5 separate regions of the Homo sapiens genome follow, and all the other regions are linked to region 1. Evidence: promoter capture Hi-C in 16 types of primary human blood cells and fetal thymus (Javierre and others, 2016). All regions are on one chromosome and are shown on one strand. The core of a region is centred on a gene start or on the middle of the fragment in contact, and the rest is flanking DNA. Distances in the headings are between cores, read along the strand shown. Region 1 holds the start of HJV (hemojuvelin BMP co-receptor). Region 2 overlaps POLR3C (RNA polymerase III subunit C). Region 3 overlaps RNF115 (ring finger protein 115). Region 4 overlaps RNF115 (ring finger protein 115). Region 5 overlaps ANKRD35 (ankyrin repeat domain 35).

Region 1 (2,700 bases), core at 63-2,562:
TTTGGAATCGGTCCTTCTGTTAATTTCACTTGGCAAGTACTAAAAGATGATGATCTCAGATATACCTATGGCTGCAAAAACATGACATGGCTAAATCCCTTGGTTGCAGTATCTCTTTTCTTTTTTAAGGGGGGTGGGGGGGCGGGTCTCACTGTTGCCCAGGCTGGAGTGCAATGGCGTTATCATAGCTCACTGCAGCCTCAAACTCCTGCGCTCAAGTGACCCTCCTGCCTCAGCTCCCAAAGTGCTGAGATTTTGCAATATTTATGGTCACAAGATTATGTTATTCCATAAAAGTATCTTTCTGAGGCTAGGCATGTTGGTTCACACTTGTAATCCCAGCACTCTGAGAGGCTGAGATGGAAGGATTCATTGAGGCAAGGAGTTCAAGACCAGCCTGGTCAACATAGTGAGACCTCATCTCGGAAGGAAGGAAGGAAGGAGGGAGGGAGGGAGGGAGGGAGTGAAGGAAGGAAGGAAGGAAGGAAGGAAGGAAGGAAGGAAGGAAGGAAAAGTATATTTTTGAATCTTTTTCTATTTCTCCAACTCTTTCTTTAGAAGAATTCTATTTCCATTCTTTCTTCACCTCTTTGCCTTTGTTAGCCTTCTCTCCAAGCAAATCGGGAGCCTTTATTTTTTGTGTATTCATGAGGGAGAGGAAGATGAATTGCTGTACAAACTAAAGTAATGAAAATGGAGTAGGTAGGAGGATAGACAGCTGCAAGGATCTGAGCTGGATAGACTGAACAAACCCTCATCCTAAGCAACTCACAGCTCAGATTTCTTCTCTGGACAGCTGGCTTTTTTCGTCCTTCTGAAATACTCTGCAAAGATAGGAGAGGGGCTATGAACTACCTCTGCTATGGATCTTATTCAAAGTCAGCTACCTCCTAGATACTATCTGTAGAACCTAAATGTAATATTCAGCATAGCAGGGATGAACATGGTAAATGAAAGGTATCCAATTGCCCACTGTAATTTTTAAAGGCCAGGAGCTCAACATTATTGAAAATGCTGGAGGGCTGCCTGGAGTAGGCAGTGACCACAGAGTCACACAAGCTGGAATTGGATATCCAACTTGTCTGTCATATTTCTCTCCTCCCTCCCTGACTTGGCACTCAATACTCCATATTCTTTCTAATCCTCTAACCCTCCCCACTCCCCCAACTCCCACACCCTACCCCCACCAACGTTCCTGGAATTTTGGACTTAGCTATTTTTAAAACCGTCAACTCAGTAGCCACCTCCCTCCCTGCTCAGCTGTCCAGTACTCTGGCCAGCCATATACTCCCCCTTCCCCCCATACCAAACCTTCTCTGGTTCCCTGACCTCAGTGAGACAGCAGCCGGCCTGGGGACCTGGGGGAGACACGGAGGACCCCCTGGCTGGAGCTGACCCACAGAGTAGGGAATCATGGCTGGAGAATTGGATAGCAGAGTAATGTTTGACCTCTGGAAACAGTAAGTCAAAATGAAATTGCAATTCCTTTAATAAGCTTTTATATTGAAGTTAGACTTTTATAAAATTACAAACACCTACTTGGATGTCTCTCGTCCAAATGCTGGGATCTCTCCCTACCAAGGTGCCCCAATCTCCATTTCTCTTTCTGTCTTATTTCTTTCTGGCCTCTGGCCTCTAGCTTTTTGAAGTTTAATTCTCTGTCTCTCCTCTGGCAGTCTTAGCCCTCTCTTTACCTTATTACCTCAAGACTCCTGATGAAGTTTTAGAAGGAGTTCCCTACGTCCTCTATTCTGTAGTTTTCTTACCAAGGCCAAATATGACCTCAGATGATGAGTCACTGATACCCTTCTATCCTGCCCCCACTTAGCAATGCCCTTCACATTGAGATTCCAAGCATGGGGGCTGCTCCCTGTAAATGATTTCTCCCCACAACTCTAGTCCCTCCATTCTATTCTCCCTCTTGCAGGACTCTTCCCCCAATCATATCCTTACCCATAAGATAGGGGAGTTAGGCAGGAGGGATTTAGCCCCTCTCCAACTCCTGTCATCATAAAAGACTGAGAACTTCAGAATTTGAAAAGAAGAGATTAATGGAAGGAGTGATATTTGGGAAAATACAAGAACTGTTGACTTAGAAAAAACAAATATTGATTTGCATGTTTGGTTTGCATCCCATTATTCCATGAGAGAGGGAGATTAAAATTGCAGCTCTCTAGAGCTGATGAAAAGAGATTGGTTTCCTTTTCATTTGAATACTGATATTCTAGACGGGATGGGTATGCCACCCTTAATCCTTCTTGTGTTCTGACACAAAGGAGGAAAAGAAATGTATGACTCCTAGAGGGCATCTCCTCCTAATGGAGAGGGACAAATAAGAAGTATGTTTCTGAAATATTTTCAGGTCCTAATTTTACTAGGGTACCCACTAGGATTACTGGTATCTGATCTAGCCCCATGATTCCTCCATCTTTGACATACCTGCTGTTTGGTAGCTCAGAATGGAGCAATACAGTGGACTCTGCCCCCTTGAGTTCACTCAACCTTCCCTCCACCCCCACCTAGGGGTATTGCACAAGGGCCCTAAAAGTGGCCACAGGAACAGGGCAAAGAGGCTTAACTGCCACACTTATAGTTTGAGGAACTCCAATCTCCCCAAATTCCAGTCTGTTCATCCTTTTCTTGATCTCCCCAGATTCACTCCACATTATCCTTACCAATCTTCAATTCTTCTCTCTCTCC
Region 2 (2,700 bases), core at 154-2,653, 190 kb after region 1:
CCCAGGCTGGAGTGCAGTGGTGTGATTGTAGCTCACTGCAGCCTTGACCTCCCTGGGCTCAGGTGATCCTCTCATCTCAGCCTCCCAAGCAGCTGGGACCACAGGTGCGTGCCACCACGCTTGGGTAATTTTTGTATTTTTCTGTAGAGACGGTCTCACCATGTTGCTCAGGATGGTCTCAAATTCCTAGGCTCAAGCGATCTGCCCGCCTTGGCCTTCCAAAGTGTTAGGATTACAAGTGTGAGCCACTGGGCCTGGCCGACACCATTTTTTCTTGGCGTTACTTTGAACCTTTCTGGCTACCTTTCCTCAGTATCCACAGATTCCTCTTTCAGATCCCAACTGTAATCCTGGTGTTTTGTCAGGGTTCTGTCCATACCTTTCCTTTCTTTTTACTCTACATGCTCTACTTGGGTAATTTTATCTGCTCTCCAGGCTTCAACTATTGATGCATTTCCAAATCTGTTACTCTATCCTAGAACTCTCTCTTTTTTTTTTTTTTTTTGAGATGGAGTTTTGCTCTTTCGCCCAGGCTGGAGTGAAGTGGCACAATCTCCGCTCACTGCAACCTCTGCCCCCCAGGTTCAAGCGATTCTCCTGCCTCAGCTTCCCAAGTAGCTGGGATTACAGGCCTGCGCCACCATGCATGGCTAATTTTTGTATTTTTAGTAGAGACGGGGTTTCGCCATCTTGGCCAGGCTGGTCTCGAACTCCTGACCTCAGGTGATCCACCTGCCTCTGCCTCCCAAAGTGCTAGGATTACAGGCATTACCGCACCCGGCCTATCCTGGAACTCTCTATTATGCTCCAGATGCATAGACTCAGCTGCCTATTTGACACTTCCATTTGTTCCCCAAACTGTTCTGTTTTGTAAGTTTTCAGGTAACTACACTATAACCAACCCAATTTTTTTTTTTTTTTGAGACAGGGTCTTGCTCTGTTGCCCAGGCTGTAGTGCAGTGGCACCATCATGGCTCACTGAAGCCTTGACTTCCTGGGCTCAAGTGATCCTCCCACCTCAGCCCCTGAGTAGCTGGGACTACAAACATGTGCCACCAGGTCTGGTGTTTTTTTTTTTGGTACAGATGGGGTCTCACTATGTTGTCCAGGCTGGTCTCAAACTCCTGGGCTCAAGTGATTCTTCTACGTCAGCCTCCCAAAATGCTGGGATTACAGGCACGAGCCACTGTGCCTAGACAACCCAATTTCTTTTTTTTTTTTGAGATGGAGTCTTGCTCTGTCACCAAGGATGGAGTGCAGTGGCGTGATCTCAGCTCACTGCAACCCCTGCCTCCCAGGTTCAGGCCATTATCCTGCCGCAGCCTCCCAAGTAGCTGTAATTACAGGCACCTACCACCATGGCCGGTTAATTTTTGTATTTTTAGTAGAGACGGGGTTTCACCATGTTGACCAGGCTCATCTCGAACTCTGACCTCAGGTGATCCACCTACCTCGGCCTCCCAAAGTGCTGGGATTACAGGTGTGAGCCACTGTGCTTGGCCAGCCAACCCGATTTCTTAAGCTACAAACTTGGGTATCACCCCTAGTCCCTTGCTCTCCATAATCTACCACCCCATTACCAAGTTCTATCTATTCTTTATATTTATCAGATGTCTACTTTTCTTTCTCCTATCATTACCTTATTTCAGACTCTAAATCTTGGCCCATCTGGATTACTACAATAGCCTCCTAACTGGGTTTTTTTTTTTCCCTTTAAAACATAGCAGACACTATAAAAGGAGTAACTGGGTTTTCTCCTTCTAATTTTGTTTTGCATCATTCTTCCCATTTCTTAGAGTAGTGCTTTTTTTTTTTTTAAACTGTTTTGGGTCACAGTTCCTTTGAAGAATGTAATGAAAGGTACGGAGAGCTTCACTGAAAAATGCACGTAAGTATAACTGGACTCTCTGAAATCCATCCATGGAGTAGAACAAGTTAGGAACTGCTGTGCTATAATAATCTTTCTAAAATATAAATCCAGTCACTTCATTTCCCTGCTTAAAATCCATCAATGGCTCTCCTTTGCCTTCAGGATAAAGCCCAAACCTCTTAGACAAACATGTACACAAATAATAAATAATTCCAGTTATAAATATAAATGCTGTGAAGTATATGAAATGAGAAATGTGGTAGGAACTAGTGTAGGAGTGGGCAATGGTGCTTGAAGTCTATGAAAACAGCATTTAAGATAGAAATGATAAAAACAGAGACCACTACATGAAGATCTGGGGACAAACATTTGAAGCCGGAGCCAAAGTCTAAAGACCAGAAAGAGTTTGACATGTTTAAGAGATAAAGTCAGTAGAGGGAACACAGTGAGTAAGATGGAGACGGGGCAGAGGTGAGGTTGAAGAGCCCTGTCTCCAGCAGATCATACGAAGACCTAGATCACGTAAGGCTTCCTAGCCCGTACCTTGGATTTCTTCTAAAAGTAAAGGAAAGCTATTAAAGGAGTCTAATCAGTGGATGTGTTGTTTTGTTTTGAACAACTTAGAAAGTCATTTTGGCTACTAAGTAGGTAAGAATGCAGCTAGGGAGACCATTAACGAAAGCGTTTGCAAAGAGTTGAGAGATGGCAGTGAAAAGATGAGAAATGGTTGGATTTGAGGTAATTTTGGAAACTGGGCTGATATGTTTTACTGTGAGATTAGAGGGTTCCAAGGATTTTGGCTTAAGCAGAAATGGTGGTGTCCTAGGCGG
Region 3 (2,700 bases), core at 171-2,670, 240 kb after region 1:
AGTATAATAAATTTATTCTGGGGTATATGTAACAAGTATAGTAGAAGGAAGAGTTAAGGTGGGCCAGGGTCTTGAGGAGAGGTCATATAACAGTGATTAAGAACACAGCCTCTGGAACCAGATTGCCTGAGCTCAAATCCTGTGTCTGCCACTTATTGGCTGTGTAATCTGGGCAAAGTTACTTAGAATCTCTCAGTGCCTCTCTTGTCCTTGTCTGTAAATTGGGAAATAATCATCCTTCCCTCATAGGGATGTTACGAGGATTAAATGAGTTAATACATGCTAGGTGTGTAGACCGCAATGTGCCTACCATCTAGTGAGTGCTTGATACATTTTAGCCATTATTAAGACTTCATAGTGAAGTTAGAACTTGCACTGGAGCCTTGAAGAGTAGGTGGAATTTAGATAAGCAAAGATGTGAAAATTATCTCAAAATAGTATTCATAAGCTATAAGGTTTTATGCTCATGTCCCTGAAGAAAAAACTTAGAAATAAAATTATATATAGAAACTAAAGTTGTTTTTCTTTTCCCTGCTTTAGTTGGTAATTTCGGCAAAGACTTATGCTCAGTTTTGCTCTATTTTTCTTTAGCTGGAGCTGCTTGTACAATGAAGTGGTTATTTTCTATAAGTAACATTTACTGATAGCTGAATTCTTAAAATACTGTCTATATTAGAAGAGGCTTATTCCAAGAAAATTTCTGTCAAAATCAGTATTGACTTTTTTTTAAAAAAATGAGACTGGGGTAGGAGATAAGAGACTAATGGGATAGAGAGAAGGTAGGGGAGGGTTGCCAGTTACATGGGAGCAGTGTTTGAATAATGTGTGAGGGCCGGTGGAGAGTGAATCTGAAAATATTGCTAGCAGTTTGTAGAGAGAAGACATTGCTATACTAAGCTTCCTGGTGGTAATCTAGAAAGTGAGCCCCATAGCTACCTGAAGGTTTCATTGATTACTTGCAAACTTCTGACCACGACCTGGTGCCAGTGGGTCATCTGATCTTAGAGTCTCAGCTTACCTGAATGGATTGCTTCAGTGCAAGAGTGGCTCTGGCTGCTGCCTCAGATTGGGAGAAAATAAGATACATGGCTTTCTGGAAAAAAGAGCTCTCAGGTATGCACAAGAGGGCAGGGTGCTCTGAGCTGATTTATATGTATTTAAATAAAATTTGTTATTTGTTTTTGTTACATAAGCAGCATTATAGTGGCAGTAAAAAATTTAAAAATATGTATCTTGAGTTTCACTTTTTTTTTTTTTTTTTTTTTTTTAGACGGAGTCTCACTCTGTTGCCCAGGCTGGGGTGCAGTGGCGCAATCTCGGCTCACTGCAACCTCCGCCTTCTGGGTTCAAGCGATTATCCTGCCTCAGCCTCCTGAGTAGCTGGGACCACAGGCGCGTGCCACCACGCCTGGCTAATTTTTTATATTTTTAGTAGAGACGGGGTTTCACCGTGTTAGCCAGGATGGTCTCGATCTCCTGACCTCGTGATCTGCCCGCCTTGGTCTCCCAAAGTGCTGGGATTACAGGTGTGAGCCACTGCGCCCGGCCGAGTTTCACTATTCTAAGAGCTCCCTTTTCCATACATTTCCTTTCAGATTTTGTCCTAAGGCATAGTTACTGAAAAATAACAACCTTAAGCTCTTTTTTGTTTGTTTTTTTGAGACGGGGTCTCGCTCTGTTGCCCAGGCTGGAGTGCAATGGCACGATCTCGGCTTACTGCAACCTCTGCCTCCTGGGTTCTAGTGATTCTCTCACCTCAGCCTCCCGAGTAGCTTGGATTACAGGCCCCCGCCGCCAAACCTGGCTAATTTTTGTATTTTTGGTAGAGATGGGGTTTTACCACGTTGGCCAGGCTGGTCTGGAACTCCTGACCTCAGGTCATCCTCTCGTCTTGGCCTCCCAGAGTGCTGGGATTACGGGCTTGAGTCACCGTGCCTGGGCCTAAGCTTTTTTAAAAATGAGAAATATTGGCCGGGCATGCAGATCACTTGAGGTCAGGAGTTCCAGACCAGCCTGTCCAATGTGATGAAACCCTGTCTTTACTAAAAATACAAAAATTAGCCAGGTGTGGTGGCGGGCACCTGTAATCCCAGCTATTCGGGAGGCTGAGGCAGGAGAATCGCTTGAACCCAGGAGGCGGAGGTTGCAGTGGGCTGAGATTGTGCCACTGCACTCTAGCCTGAGCAACAGAGCGAGACTCCGTTTCAAAAAATAAAGAAATATCCCATATTGTCATTACTTGATTATAGCTTTATGCATTTTTTAGCAAAATACTTCTCATTTCTCATGTGCATACCTCATAACTGTTTAGAGTTGCTGTCATAAGAGTATATTGTATTTCTGCCTCTAAAAATTTACTTGGTATTATGTCATAAACCTTTTACTTGTCTCTCTATAGTTATTAGAATTATAGCTGGACGTGGTGGCTCATGCCTGTAATCCTAGCACTTTGGGAGGGCGGAGGCAGGCGGATTGTTTGAGCCCAGGAGTTCAAGACCAGCCTGGGCAACATGGTAAAACCCTGTGTCTACAAAAATAAAAATAAAAAGCCAGGTGTAGTGGCATATGTGTGTAGTCCCAGCTACTCGAGAAGCGGAGGTGGGAGAATCTCTTGAGCCTGGGAGGCAGAGGTTGCAGTGAGCTGAGCTCGTGCCACTGCACCCCAGCCTGGGTGTCAGAGTGAGACCCTGTCTCCAAAAA
Region 4 (2,700 bases), core at 103-2,602, 220 kb after region 1:
CAAAGTTGCAGGATACAAAATCAACACACAAAAATTAGTTATGTTTCCATACACAGTGAACAACTTGAAAAATTAAGAAAACAATTCCATTAACAGTAGCATCAGAAAGAATGAAAGTTAGGAATGACCCTAACCAAAGAAGTGAAAAATTTGAATATTAAAAACCGTAAAATACTGCTGAAAAGAATTAAAGAGCATACAAATAAATAGAAAGACATCCTGTGTTCATGGATTGGAAGACTTAATATTGTTAAGATATGAATTCTTCCCAAAGCGATCTACAGATTCAACAGAATACCTATCAAAATCCCAACAGCATTTTTTTTGCAAATAGAAGTTTCATCCCAAAATTAATTTGGAATCTCACGTTACCCCTAATAGCCAGAACAGTTTTCAAAAAGAAAAACAAAGCTGGAGGACTCAAACTTTCTGATTTCAAAATATATTACTAAGCTATGGTAATAAAACTAGTGTGGTACTGGCATAACAACAGACATATAGACAATGGAATAGAGACTCCAGAAATAAACCCTTGCATATGTGGTCAGATGATCTTGGACAGAGGTGCTAGGACCCCTCTGTGGAGCAAGGACAGTCTCTTCAGCAAACAGTGTTGGGAAAACTGGACTTTCACATACAAAACAAAAATTTGGACTCATATTTTACACTATATATAAAAATAAACTCAAAGTGGATTAAAGACCTAAATATAAGACCTAAAACTGTAAAACTCCTAAAAGAAAACTTAGAGGAAAGGCTTATAACTTAAAACTTAGAGGAAAGGCTTTATAACTTTGGATTTGGCAGTGATTTCTGGCATATGACACCATAAGCACAGGCAACAAAAGCAAAAATAGGCAAATGGGACTGCATCAAACTTAAAAACTTTGGTGCATCAATGAACACAATCAACTTGAAAAGGCAACCTGTGGAATGGGAGAAAATGTTTGTAAATTGTGTATCTGTTAAAGTATTAATATCCAGAATGTAGAAAGAACAACAACTCAACAACAAAAAATCAAATAAACAGATTAAAAAATAGGCAAATGACTTGAATAGTCATTTCTCCAAAGATGATAAACCAATGGTCAAGACACATTTGAAAAGATGTTCAACATCACTAATCATCAGAGAGATCCAAATCAAAACCACAATGAGATATCACCTCACATCCATTAGGATGGCTACTATTAAAAAACAAACAGGGAATTACGAGTGTTAGTGAAGATTATGAGAAATTGGAACTATTCTTGTGCACTGTTGGGACTGTAAAATGGTGCAACTGTGATGGAAAACAGCATGGCAGTTCCTCAAAAAATTAAAAATAGAATTACTATGTAATCCATCAAACTCATTTCTGGATATGTATCCAGAAGTATTCAATGCAGGACCTCAGAGAGATATTTGCACACCTATGCTCATAGCACATTCAGGATAGCTAAGAGGTGAAAACAACGCAGATGTCCTTGATGAATAAATAAAATATGGTATATACACACAATGGAATATTATTTAGCTTTAAAAAGGAAATAAATCCTGTCATATGCGACAGTGTGGGTGAACCTTGAGGATATTGTGTTAAGTGAAATAAGCCAGTCAAAGACGAATACTGTATGCTTTCACTTATATTAGGTATTATTACTGAAACACCAGGGATGTGTTCTAGGTTATGCTGCTTGCTGCACAGAAAGCCAGTTGCTGAGACGATGAGTTTTGCCAGAGAAGGAGGTTTTAATTGGGTGCTGTAGCTGAGGAGAGGGTAACTCAGTCTCAAATCCATCTCCCTGGCTGACTACAATTAAGGGCTTATATAGCAGGGAAGAACTGTAACTACATGCAGGAAAATAGGAATTAGGGAGAGATAAGGAAGAGAAGTTGGTCAACAGGAAGCAGGAGGTCACTTAGGCAATCATGATGGGTTGAGGGGTTTGAGGTTTCATTGTTTAGATGCAGTGATCTGGTACGTTTCAGTTCCTTGATATCATCTGGGAGACCTGATGGTTGGTTTCCTGAGAAAGGAACTCAGATAAGACAAATGTAACTTTTTCAAGTTTTAAGACTGGGAGGGTCAATTTCTATCTTTATTCAAAAGAAACTATAATGGTCAGTTCTATGGGACAGTTAGGTTGTTGGTGTCAGTATCAAAAATTATAAATTCATAGAAACAGAGGTAGAATGGTGGTTACCAGGGAATGAAGGGGAGAAATGGGTTGTTGTTGTTTAATGGGTATAGAGTTTCAGTTTTGCAAGATGAGAAGGTTCTGGAGATGTTTCACAGCAGTGTGAATATACTTAACACTTCTGAACTGTACACTTAAAAATGGTTAATATGGGCTGAGTGTGGTGGCTCATGCCTGTAATCCTAGTATTTTGGGAGGCTGAGGCAGGCAGATTGCTTGAGCTTAGGAGTTCAAGACCAGCCTGGGCAACATGGTGAAGCCTCATGTCTACAAAAAATACAAAAATTAGCCAGGTGCAGTGGGATGCACCTGTAGTCTCAGGAGGCGGAAGTTACAATGAGTTGAGATCATGCCACTGCGCTCCAGCTTGGGTGACAGAGGGAGACCCTGTCTCAGAAAAAAAAAAAAAAGTTAAGATGGGAAATTTTTATGTATTTTCTACCACAAAATGTGTAGACAGAATAATACAACAAATCTACATGTATACAGCTTCAACAATTATCAACTTATAAACAATCTT
Region 5 (2,700 bases), core at 189-2,688, 150 kb after region 1:
TGTGTGTGTGTGTGTTTGTGTGTGTTGGGGAAGAAGTCAGGTTGGTCTTTGTGTTCTTGGGAACCTCATTCCTTCCCAGTGGAGGTTCTGAAGAGCTCTGCCTGCTGCCACCACCATCTTCATAGATAGATGACCCCAGAAGTAGAATCGACACTTCTGGACCCGTTGGCTGAATTTACTGGTTGTCAAATTATCTTTTATGCAAGAGGATCCTTTTTTCCAATAAAAAATGTATGTAGAATCCCTGTGATCCCAGCACTTTGGGAGGCCAAGGCGGGTGGATCACGAGGTCAAGAGATTGAGACCATCCTAGCTAAAATGGTGAAACCCCATCTCTACTAAAAATACAAAAAATTGGTCAGGCATGGTGGTGGGTGCCTGTAGTCCCAGCTACTCGGGAGGCTGAGGCAGGAGAATGGCATGAATCTGGGAGGTGGAGGTTGCAGTGAGCCGAGATTGCACCACTGCACTCCAGCCTGGGCGAGAGAGGAGCGAGACTCCGTCTCAAAAAAAAAAGTATGTAGAACCTTGATATACAGAGCAGATAAAAATGGAGCTCATCCAGTTGGCCCCCTAATTTCTGTTCCTGCAGCTCTAAGGAATGGCATTTGAAAAGCCTAGTCCTGGCCTGGTGCAGTGGCTCATACCTGTAATCCCAGCACTTTGGGAGGCTGTGGAGGGTGGATCACCTGAGGTCAGGAGTTCAAGACCAGCCTGACCAACATGGAGAAACCCTGTCTCTACTAAAAATACAAAATTAGCCGGGTGTGGTGGTGCATGCCTGTAATCCCAGCTACTCGGGAGGTTGAGGCAGGAGAATCGCATGAACCTGGGAGGCAGAGGTTGCAGTGAGCCGAGATCATGCCATTGCACTCCAGCCTGGGCAACAAGAGTGAAACTCCGTCTCAAAAAAAAAAAAAGAGAAGTCTAGTCTGGTCTAATGTTGGTCTGTTGTTCTCCTGACCCCACTGAATGAGAGCTTACCCTGTGAGTGGAATGTCTGGAACCAGGACTTCTGGGTTCCATGTGGAAAGTCTGTGCTCAGATTTGTCTCAACCCACAGATCGGCTTTGATCCTGGCCTGTGAGAAAGGCAGTGCCGAGGTGGCTGAACTGCTCCTGAGCCACGGAGCTGACGCGGGGGCTGTGGACAGCACAGGGCATGATGCTCTGCACTATGCTCTGCACACACAAGACAAGGCACTGTGGAGGCACCTACAGCAGGCCCTGAGCCGGCGGCGGCGGGGCGGTAAAGGCCCTTGTGTAACTTCCACGTTCTCTAAGAATCAGAGAAGTTTCTTAGAGTCCCATTTGTTTCCATGGAAGTAATCTATCTGACAAATAATTGTCACCTGGGTTGAGAGTTTACGTATTTATTGCTGCTACTGTGAGAGGACCCCAAATCCCCATCCCAAAAGTATGATCACAAAATTCTTTAATGCAGCCTGGTCTCTCACTGAGGACAGCTCTGGCTAGTGTTGTTTCTGGCGTTTGTGAGTTGTAATTGTACATCTATTTGTGTGATTTGTTGGTCACTCTCTCTTTCCTCTACCAGATTGTAACCCCCTTAGGTGACAGGCCATTTCTGTTTTGCTCACCATTGAAGTTCCAGTGCTTATTAAAGTGCTGGACATAGTGACCAATAAATAAATGAGCGAACAAAATGAATGAAGTGGCCCATTTCTGGGATAGGAAACCAAAGTTGCTGGATAGTTAGGGATCCACTAAACAAGATTGGCTTCTGGCACCAGGAAGATGTGCAGTGAGATTGATCACAGAGAGGCCACTCCTCTCAGAAAAAGTCTGAAGATAAGAATGTGGGCTGGAAGTACATGGAACCTGTCTTCTCTCTCATTTTCCTCATATCTTTTCTTATAGGTCAGAGGCTAGTCCAGCACCCAGATCTCGCATCCCAGGTAAGACCCTAAGTGCCTCCCCCTTTTGCTTTTGACACACCCCAGGCTATCCCACTGTGACTATTCCTAGTGGTCCTTGGGGTGTCAAGACATTTAAGAGAAGAAAGGCACTCCTAGGGCTCAGTTCGTTGCCTAGTGGCCACACTTTACTATTCTGTTTCCAACATAGGCCTCTCCATCTGAGCCCCAGGCAGGTTCTCCTCCTAAGAGCTCATGGAGAGCAGAGCCTGAAGAGGAGCAAGAGGAGAAGGAGGATGAAGACCCGTGCTCGGAGGAGTGGAGGTGGAAGTATGAAGAGGAGCGGAGGAAAGTTGTTCGGCTGGAGCAGGAGCTGGTGCAAAAGACAGAAGAGTGTAAGACTCAAGCTGCAGCCTATCTGGACCTTGAGAACCAGATTCGAGAGCAGGCGCAGGAGCTAGGGGTCCTCCTATCCTGGGAGCCCAGAGCTTCAGGAAAGCAAGGCTCTAGTCTCCGGCCTGGAGGGGATGGCATGGAGCAGGGTTGTCCTAAGGACCTGCTGGCTGAGAGTACACAAGAGCTAAAGAAGCAGCAGCAGGCAGCAGCCACAGTAAATCCAGTATTAGCTCCAAAGAAGGCTGAGGACTCAGCCCCAGGAAAGATCCAGTATGAAGTCCATGGAAGGTCCCAACCAGAAGAACAGGGGCCACCCCAGAGCCCAGCGTCTGAGACCATCAGGAAAGCCACAGGACAGCAACTGACTACCAATGGGGCACAGACCTTTGGCCCTGATCATGCTGACCAGCTGCCTGCTGGTCAGAAGGAGA

What was found. The method cuts DNA at HindIII sites, captures the fragments that hold promoters and counts their contacts. A CHiCAGO score of 5 or more calls a contact.
Region 2: a fragment that was not itself captured here is called in contact with the fragment with the promoter of HJV in region 1 in 17 of 17 cell types (total CD8 T cells, activated CD4 T cells, total CD4 T cells and 14 more); the score reaches 23.3 in total CD8 T cells.
Region 3: a fragment that was not itself captured here is called in contact with the fragment with the promoter of HJV in region 1 in 2 of 17 cell types (non-activated CD4 T cells and total CD8 T cells); the score reaches 5.7 in non-activated CD4 T cells.
Region 4: a contact is called between a fragment that was not itself captured here and the fragment with the promoter of HJV in region 1, in 1 of 17 cell types (activated CD4 T cells). The highest score is 5.4, in activated CD4 T cells.
Region 5: a fragment that was not itself captured here is called in contact with the fragment with the promoter of HJV in region 1 in 5 of 17 cell types (activated CD4 T cells, total CD8 T cells, neutrophils and 2 more); the score reaches 7.2 in activated CD4 T cells.

The regions. Positions count from the first base shown.
Region 1 is chr1:146,020,347-146,023,046 of GRCh38, reverse strand. It overlaps HJV (hemojuvelin BMP co-receptor), which reads left to right and starts at 1,312. Exons shown (of 4, transcript NM_213653.4): 1 at 1,312-1,460. The HindIII fragment of the contact is 1,771 bases long and covers 1-1,493 here.
Region 2 is chr1:145,829,320-145,832,019 of GRCh38, reverse strand. All of the region lies in intron 5 of POLR3C (RNA polymerase III subunit C), which reads right to left. Among named protein-coding and RNA genes, the nearest start is that of POLR3C, 6.5 kb to the right of the region's middle. The HindIII fragment of the contact is 3,385 bases long and covers 1-2,700 here.
Region 3 is chr1:145,779,187-145,781,886 of GRCh38, reverse strand. The region is part of intron 3 of RNF115 (ring finger protein 115); the gene reads left to right. Among named protein-coding and RNA genes, the nearest start is that of RNF115, 44 kb to the left of the region's middle. The HindIII fragment of the contact is 1,049 bases long and covers 896-1,944 here.
Region 4 is chr1:145,796,319-145,799,018 of GRCh38, reverse strand. The region is part of intron 1 of RNF115 (ring finger protein 115); the gene reads left to right. Among named protein-coding and RNA genes, the nearest start is that of RNF115, 26 kb to the left of the region's middle. RefSeq lists a silencer at 1,777-1,977. The HindIII fragment of the contact is 3,772 bases long and covers 1-2,700 here.
Region 5 is chr1:145,873,370-145,876,069 of GRCh38, reverse strand. ANKRD35 (ankyrin repeat domain 35) reads left to right here. Exons shown (of 14, transcript NM_144698.5): 8 at 1,064-1,248; 9 at 1,878-1,915; 10 at 2,085-2,700. Among named protein-coding and RNA genes, the nearest start is that of ANKRD35, 11 kb to the left of the region's middle. The HindIII fragment of the contact is 7,026 bases long and covers 1-2,700 here.